Linked DNA regions of Homo sapiens: all the other regions are linked to region 1. The links are contacts of gene promoters, found by promoter capture Hi-C in human tissues and cell types (Jung and others, 2019). All regions are on one chromosome and are shown on one strand. The core of a region is centred on a gene start or on the middle of the fragment in contact, and the rest is flanking DNA. Distances in the headings are between cores, read along the strand shown.

The links. Contacts are between HindIII fragments. The study calls those that stand out against the background at their distance.
Region 2: a fragment that was not itself captured here is called in contact with the fragment with the promoter of SOWAHB in region 1 in 3 of the 25 tissues and cell types used here (dorsolateral prefrontal cortex, mesendoderm cells and spleen).
Region 3: a contact is called between a fragment that was not itself captured here and the fragment with the promoter of SOWAHB in region 1, in 4 of the 25 tissues and cell types used here (IMR-90 fibroblasts, liver, mesendoderm cells and 1 more).

Annotation. Positions count from the first base shown.
Region 1 is chr4:76,896,638-76,899,587 of GRCh38, reverse strand. It overlaps SOWAHB (sosondowah ankyrin repeat domain family member B), which reads left to right and starts at 1,444. Exons shown (of 1, transcript NM_001029870.3): 1 at 1,444-2,950. The coding sequence starts at 1,739. RefSeq lists silencers at 1,284-1,353, 1,424-1,723, 1,984-2,093. The HindIII fragment of the contact is 8,540 bases long and covers 1-2,950 here.
Region 2 is chr4:76,814,826-76,817,775 of GRCh38, reverse strand. All of the region lies in intron 1 of LOC124900719 (a long non-coding RNA gene), which reads left to right. Among named protein-coding and RNA genes, the nearest start is that of SHROOM3-AS1, 14 kb to the right of the region's middle. The HindIII fragment of the contact is 6,102 bases long and covers 1-2,950 here.
Region 3 is chr4:76,965,832-76,968,781 of GRCh38, reverse strand. The region is part of intron 1 of SEPTIN11 (septin 11); the gene reads right to left. Among named protein-coding and RNA genes, the nearest start is that of SEPTIN11, 18 kb to the right of the region's middle. The HindIII fragment of the contact is 3,733 bases long and covers 1-2,950 here.

The sequences.
Region 1 (2,950 bases), core at 195-2,694:
AAAAGTGCTAGGGTATTTTTGGGGATTTAAAATCAAGCTCAGTTAATGTGGTCTATAGGGCAGTCACTAAGATTGGTCCATGCTAAAACATGTCTTTGTCAACAATTGTAGGGCCAACACACATACTTTCAATACTCTTTCTTGGCGAGAAGTATAGGAACTATGAGTAATCAGAAATAGAAGAGCAAAAGGAAAAGTGAAAAGATGAGAAGAGTCCATGAGAAAAGAGAGGCAAATTACAGGGAAGGAGAAAATCGAGGTTTTTGAATGGGAAATACAGTGGACATGAGAGGATCTGAGAAACAGACATATTTCCTGTCAGTAGAGGCCGAAGGTAAACAAGGATGTCGTGTAACAGAAAGAAATGGGAAGGCCAAGTTAAAGAAAAGAATGAGAGAAGGCTTGGAACTAAAACAGGTAAAGAGATAATGACAGTGAAAACTATCTCAGGCATGTCAACAGGACTGATAAGGAACAGTGAGGGACATCCAGGATCTCACATCAAAGACAGAAGGGTCAACATGTGGAGAGAGAAAAAGGAAGAGGGATCCCAGCTGTTAGGGGGAAAAGGTGCTGTTAAAGACAGCTCTAGTCTGCATTTTGAACCTTACATTCTGAAAGGAAGCACTTCACCAAGCCAATACAAAACACTGTACAAATCTCTGCTGTTCACAAATTTTAGAGTAAATAAAAGCAAACTAATGCTACACATCAAATACCTTAACTGGCGAGACATAATTCCTAGTTCATTTTAGCCGCCGGGGGCAAGAAGCTATCAAAGTGATTTTTTTTTTCCAGCACCTTAATGTGAGACAAGTATGAAGGAAAGACAAGTATGAAAGAAAAAGTCCCAAACCAATATTGCCCAGTAGTAATTTTCAGAGTGATTTCTCTTTTCAGTATAGACTTGGATGTATTCGGACCCCTTGGAGGGGGCGCCGGAGAAGCGGCCCAGAAAGTATTTCTATATTAAGAAAAATTTAGTTTGGATGCAAAGTGAGTTTTGCGGACCTCAATACAGCCTCGAGAAATCTGAAGTACTCCTCTACAGCGTTAATAAAGAAAGATAACTCAGATTGCCTGTTAACTTGCAGCTTCTCCTCCTCCCCCATCGGCTTCAGCCTGAACTCATCAAAGCACCGGAGGACAGGAACGGACCTTCTATCGCTTTTGTTTCCTGCGTGGCGGAGACTTAGAGGAACGGCCGGTCGCCTACCTGCCTTCCACTTCCCCGGCCGCAGAGCAGTTCGCTGCCGGCTCGGTTCGCCGCCAACCTCACCTACCGGCTGGCTCTCCGGCCTGACTCTTCTGGGATGGGTGGCAGGGGGTGGGGGAGACCTCAGGGGGCGGAGGGACACGAGGAGGCGGGCCTGACCCTTCCCCCAGAGGCAGGGAGGAGGTGCCGCCAGGGCGCAGGTGAAACCGACTCGGCCCTATCCCGGGAACTTTCGCTGTGAGGACTCGTTGCGAGAGGCTAGAGTCGCGCAGGGGCGGCCTCGGAGCCGCCCTCTCTCACGCAGACTGCCGCGGGGACTCAGCCTTGGGGCCACCCGGAGGGGACCCACGGCCCTCCTGGCGCGCTCACGGGCTGCGGGCAGCGCTGGCCTCCGCGGCTGATGGGGGCGGCTAGTGCCGCCCCGGGCGCAGGTGACACTCGCCCGGCCAGGGTTTCCTCTGGCTGGGGAGAGCCCCGGGAGGGCGAGACTCAGACACCTCTGGGGCGGAGGACAAGGCAGCGATGGCCCGAGAGCTGAGCCAGGAGGCACTACTGGACTTTCTGTGCCAGGCTGGGGGCCGCGTGACCAACGCTGCCTTGCTGAGCCACTTCAAGAGCTTTCTCCGAGACCCCGACGCGTCCCCCAGCCAGCACCAGCACCGCCGCGAGCTCTTCAAGGGCTTCGTCAACTCGGTCGCCGCAGTGCGCCAGGACCCCGACGGCACCAAGTACGTGGTGCTCAAGAGGAGATACAGGGACCTTTTGGGGGAGGAGGGGCTGCAGCGACCCCGCGAGCCGCCCGCGGCCGCCCCCAGTGCAGGGGGAGCTGCGCCCTGCTCCCCGCGAGGCGCGCGCCGGGGGGAGCCGCCCCAGCAGCAGCCCAGGCGGCGGCGGCGCGAGAAGGAGCCGGAGGAGGAGCCAGCAGGTGCAGCAGCCAGAGCCGCCGACGCAGCTTGCAATGGACTCCCGGGCAGCGACTCCCGTAGGGCGCCCGGGAAGGGCGGCGGATCGAAGGGCAGTCCCGGACAGAGGCCGCCGGTGCCCGCAGCTGCAGCGGCAGGGGCCCAGGCGAGAGCGAGCTGCGCGGCGGCGAAGACGCAGGGCCGCTGCTGCTGGGAATGCCTCCAGAACAACCTGGCTGTACTGCCGGGAGAGCTCGGCGCACTCCCGCACTCGGCCACCGCGGAGGAGAAGCCGGCACGGGCTCTGCCTGCCCAGGATGACCGCGGGGCTTCCAGGGAGCGGGAAGAAGGCGCGCTAGCTGAGCCGGCGCCTGTGCCTGCAGTGGCTCACTCGCCTCCCGCCACCGTCGAGGCTGCGACAAGCAGGGCTTCCCCGCCTGCTCTCCTGCCCGGCCCCGCTCCCCGCGGAGACCGGCCGGAGCTGCTGACCCCCAGCTCCCTGCATTATTCGACCCTGCAGCAGCAGCAGCAGCGCACTCGAGAGTGGGTGGCCAGGCACCCGCAGGTGCCCGAGGCCCGTGATCAGGGCCCTATCCGCGCCTGGTCGGTGCTGCCAGACAACTTCCTCCAGCTGCCCTTGGAACCCGGCTCCACGGAGCCTAATTCAGAGCCGCCAGACCCCTGTCTTTCCTCGCACTCTCTCTTTCCTGTTGTTCCGGATGAGTCCTGGGAATCCTGGGCGGGGAACCCTTCATTGACTGTCTTTCGCAGCATTCGTTGTCAGCTGTCCCTCCAAGATCTGGATGACTTTGTGGACCAGGAGAGTGATGGC
Region 2 (2,950 bases), core at 218-2,717, 82 kb after region 1:
ATAAAGATCAGAGCAGAAATAAATGAAATTGAAACAAATAAAACAATACAAAAGATTAATGAAACAAATAGTTGTTTTTTTGAAAAGATAAACAAAATTGACAAACCTTTAGCCAGACTAACAAGAAAAAAATAGAGAACAGTCTGGGAAACATTGTGAGACCCTGTCTCTACAAAAGGTAGAAAAAACTAGCTGACTGTGGTGGCATGTGTCTGTAGTCCTAGCTACTCGGGAGGTCAAGATGTGAGGATAACTTGAGCCTGAGAGATGGAGTCTGCAGTGAACTGTGATCATGTCACTGCATTACATCCTGGGAGACAGAGTGAGACCTTGTCTCAAAAACAAAACAAAACAAAAATGGAGAGATGATCCAAATAAATGAAATCAGAGATATTAAAAGGAGACATTACAACCAGTACTGCAGAAATTCAAAAGATCATTAGAGGCTACTATGAGCAACTCTATGCCAACAAACTGGAAAACACAGAATAAATGAATAAATTCCTAGACATATATAACCTACCAAGACTGAACAATGAAGAAACCCAAAACCTGAACAGACCCATAACAAGTAACAAGATTGAAGTTGTATTAAAAAGTCTCCTAGCAAAGACCAGGACCCAATGGCTTCACTGCTGAATTTTACCAAACATTTAAAGAACTTATATCAACTCTACTCAAACTATTCCAAAAAATAGAAGAGGAGTACTTCCAAACTCATTCTGTGAGGCCAGTAGTATCCTGATACCAAAACTAGACAAGGACAATCAAAAAAAGAAAACTATAGGCCAATATCCCTGATGAACATTGATGTAAAAATCCTCAACAAAATACTAGCAAACTAAATTCAACAAAACATTAAAAAGATCTTCATTATGACCAAGGGGGATTTATCCCAGGGATGCAAAGATGGTACAACATAGGCAAATCAATCAATGTGATACCTCATATCAACAGAATGAAGAATAAAAACCATATGATTGTTTCAATTGATGCTGAAAAAGCATTTAATAAAATTCAATATCCCTTCATGATAAAAAAAAAAAACCTAAAGAAACTAGATATAATAGGAACATACCTCAACACAACAAAAGCCATATATGACAGACCCACAACTAGTATCACACTGAGTAGGAAAAAACTGAAAGCCTTTCCTCTAAAATCTGGAACAAGACAAGGATGCCCACTTTATTTATTTAATTTTTTAAAAATTTTTGTTTTACTTTAAGTTCCGGGATACACATGCAGAATGTGCAGGTTGTATAGGTATATGTGTGCCACGGTGGTTTGCTGCACCTATCAACCCACCATCTAGGTTTTCAGCCCCGCATGCATTAGCTATTTGTCCTGGTGCTCTCCTTCCCTGCACCGCACCCCCTGGACTGGCCCAGTGTGTGTTATTCCCCTCCTAGTGTCCATGTGTTCTCATTGTTCAACTCCACTTATGAATGAAAGCATGTGGTGTTTGCTTTTCTGTTCCTGTGTTAGTTTGCTGAGAATGATGGCTTCCAGCTTCATCCATATCTCTACCAAGGACATGATCTCATTCCTTTTTATGGTCGCATAATATTCCATGGTGTATATATAATACATTTTCTTTATCCAGTCTATCATTGATGGAAGGATGCCCACTTTCACCACTGTTATTCAACATAGTACTGGAAATCCTAGCTAGCGCAATCACACAAGGGAAAGAAATAAAGGACCTCCAAATTGGAAAGGAAGACATTAAATTATCCTTGTTTAAAGATGATATTATACTTGGAAAACCCTAAAGACTCTACTAAAAAACTATTAGAACTGATAAAAAAATTCAGTCTAGTTGCAGGATACAAAATACAAAAGTCAGTGGTATTTCTATATGCCAACAGCAAATAATTTAAAAAAGAAATCAAGAAGGTAATCTCATTTATAATAGCTACAAACAAAATACCTAGGAATAAACTTAACCAAAAAAGTGAAAGATCTCTACAATGAAAACTACAAAAGATTAATGAAAGAAATTGAAGAAGACACAGAAAAATTGAAAGATATTCTATGTTCATGGATTGGAAGAATCAATATTGTTAAAATGTTCATACCACCCAAAGCAATTTACAGATTCAATGCAATCCTTATCAAAATACCAATGTCATTCTTCACAGAAATAGAAAAAATAATCTTAAAATTTCTATGAAACCACAGAATACCCAAAAGAGCCAAACCATCCTGAGCAAAAAGAATGAAAGTGGAAGAATTTCATTACCTGACTTCAAATTATACTACAGAGCTATTGTAACCAAAACAGCATGGTATTGGCGTAAAAACAGACACATATACCAGTGGAACGGAACAGATAACCTAGAAATAAATCCATACATCTATGGTGAACTCAATTTTGACAATGGTGCCAAGAACATACACTGGGGAGAAAATAGTCTCTTCAATAAATGGTGCTGGGGAAAGTGGATATTCATATGCAGAAGAATGAAACTAGACCCCTATCTCTCACCATATACAAAAATCAAATAAAAATGGATTAAAGACTTAAATCTAATACCTGAATCTATGAAACTACTAAAAGAAAACATTGGGGAAACTCTCCAGGAAATTGGTCTGAGCGAAGATATCTTGAGTAATAAAAAGCACAGGCCACCAAGGCAAAAATGGACAAATGGGAATATATCGAGTTAAAAAGCTTCTGCACAGCAAAGGAAATAATAAACAAAGTGAAGAGACAATCCACACAATAGGAGAAAATATTTGCAAACTATCCCTCTGACAAGGACTTATTAACCAGACTATATATGAAACTCAAACAGCTCTATAGGAAAAAAAACTAATAATCTAATTTTTAAAATGGACAAAAGATGTGAATAGATATTTCTCAAAAGAAGACATACAAATGACAAACAGGTATATGAAAAGTTGCTCAACATCATCAGTCATCAAAGAAATGGAAATCAAAACT
Region 3 (2,950 bases), core at 219-2,718, 69 kb before region 1:
CAACTTTCATGTGGTTCAACCCACTACTAGGACATTCTGTAAAATCAAGAGCAATTTTGCCACATCTTTTTCTTTTACTGTTAATGATCTCACTGGCTTTTTGCTTCTTAAAAAGGTTATGAAAGAGTAGGCTTCGGAAAAGAAGAGTCTCAAAACTCATAACAAAAACAACAGAAATTTTATCAATAAAAATGTTCCAATAATTAGAAAGACAGCCTAAATCAACCTTTTAGAAAGATGTTTTCTAAATAGTCTGCTTACAAAACATCTGCCTTTTTTGTTTTTCTGAGACTCTAATTGTCACTAATAGTTCGTAGAAGATGCATTTTTGTATAGGCAGGAAGACCGAAAAGAAGGGAGGATGCTGGGTTTCAGCTGTAGAGGGAAGGATTAACAGGAAATTTAAGCCTCAACTTAAGTCCTTAGGCCTCAATAAGGATTAATGGGAAATTTAAGCCTCAATTCCCCAGGCCTCAGTTTCCTCATCTTAAAGGAAGGTCCTTTATAAGGTGACCTTTGAAGGCCCTTCTGGCTCTAGCACTAATAATTTGTTGAAATTTGGTAACAAATTTTATTCTACCTATATCAACTTGCATTTTATATCGTCCCACTGCCGAATTCATAAATAATTTCATGGCCTATAGGAACAGCCATTAACTGTCATTGGAACTCAACCAAAAATAGAAAATCCAACCCCATTCACTATATATAGCATATGTTTTTGCGGAGCCACATTTGCTTGGCTACCACACACTCTAGAATTCCTCCCACTCCCTCAGCTGTGGGCCTGCTCACACCATACATCAACTTTTGGTTCTCCAAATTTGCTCTCTTATGGCCGGGCCTGTATTGGAGAAATCCTGTTACAGAAACAATTCAAAAATGTTGATGTTGTCCTCAACCAATCTATATGTTTTAATATCAGAGTTCAAGCACTTGCTTCACTTGTATTTTAAAAGCAGCCACATTTTCTGCACACACAAAAAGCTTAAATTGTTCAAATGTTAAATCATTCTAAAAGGCATACCAAAAAAAAAAAAACTATTAATGGTTCCTTTATTCAAATACAAGAAAAACAAATAAATTTATTTCCAATGGAAATCAGATTGCAAATTGGCAGACTCAACCAGCAAATGTGTTTATGTGACCCACACAGTATTTTTAAAACATTTAGTTGCCAACATTGTCAGATGTGGAAATTTCACATCAAATTCCAAATGTCCATCTCTTCTTTTGAAAAACTGAAGACTATGGCACCATCAGGCCCCCATTTCCTAGTCAGAGCCAAGAGGTGGCATGTGTTTTTCCAGCAGTTTAACTGAAGAATGTGGGTTGCCTTTTTGGTACTTTTTCTCCCTCAAATAAATAAGCTAAATAATGAAGCTCATTCATAGATGGCTTACACATTTGCCTCCCTTACTATCATCTTACCATGCCATCAATAATTCAACACGGAACCTAATTGAAGCTTAACCAAAACTGTGTATAAACCATTGGCCATTAACTAAAGAGAAAGTTAGATAAATTTCTATTTCTTATTAATGTTATAGCTACATCAGGTTAAGCACTTTTTCTTTTCTTTTTTGTGATGGAGTCTCACTCTGTCACCCAGGCTGCAGTAAAGGGGCATGATCTTGGCTCACTGAAACCTCTGCCTCCTGGACTCAAGCAATTCTCGTGCCTCAGCCTCCCAAGTAGCTGGGATTACAGGTGTGAGCCACCACACCTGGCTAATTTTTGTATTTTTAGTAGAGACACGGTTTTGCCATGTTGGCCAGGCTGGTCTCAAAATCCCGACCTCAAGTGATCTGCCCACCTCGGCCTCCCAAAGTGCTGGGATTACAGGCCAGGTTAAGCACTTTTCTAACTACAATAAAGCATAAGCATTAACTGAGATCTAGACTACTTAATATTTTTTGAGACAGGGGCTCCCTCTGTCTCCCAGGCTGGAGTACAGTGGCACAATCTCGGCTCACTGCAGCCTGAAACTCCCAGACTCAAGCGATCCTCCCACCTCAGCCACCGGAGTAGCTGGGACAACAGGTGAGCGCCACCACCTCCCAGCTAATTCTTGTATTTTTTCTGAGAAATGGGGTTTCACCATGTTGCCGGGGCTGGTCTCAACCTCCTGGGCTCAAGTGATCTATCTTCCTCGGCCTCCCAAAGTGCTGGGAATTACAGGTGTGAGCCACCATGCCTGGCTGATTACATAAATTTTTAATTTTTTTCAAGATGTATTATTGTTAGATTTAAATTTGGTCTATTAGAAAATCACTGGAAAATCTCCAAACTTTATACATTAAAAAAAAAAAAAGTCAGCTATACTCATCTTGTGGCTTCTTTGCTGAAAATAGTTGCTATATTTGCCTAATCAGGTCATAGTCATTTTACAAGCCTTAACAGTTTCCTGTCTCTATCCTGCATAAAAAGCACAGGATAACTAATTTGACCAAATATCTTCCTAAATCTTCTTCTTAGCCCTACTGTGGATTCAACTGTCTCTTGTCAAGTGGAGATAAAACTCATTTCATGAGAGAATTCTTTGCAAAACTAGCATAAATCTTGAGTTGTGGTAACATTAAAATGTAGGGCGCCATCCAACTACTTACTCTCTCCACTCACCATGGAATAAAGCAAACTGGACTAAACTGCAACACAGATGATGAGATGAAACACAGACTTTCCTTCTCTCCCAGGAACATAGTTAACAAAGCCTAAGGGAACACAAAGGGCAGACTCTGCTGGAGACAAAACCATGTAAAAGAAATGGCAGCCTCTTATAGCTGAAAGCTTGCAGTTGTCCATCAGAAAGTTGGTGAAAATTTCAATATAGCTCTTTTTCTAAAGCACATTATCTTTTTACATCAATAGACAGCTGAGCCAAGCCCTGAGAGCATTTCCGATGATACAAGATCCTTTTACCATCACAAAACCATTCCCTTTAAATCCT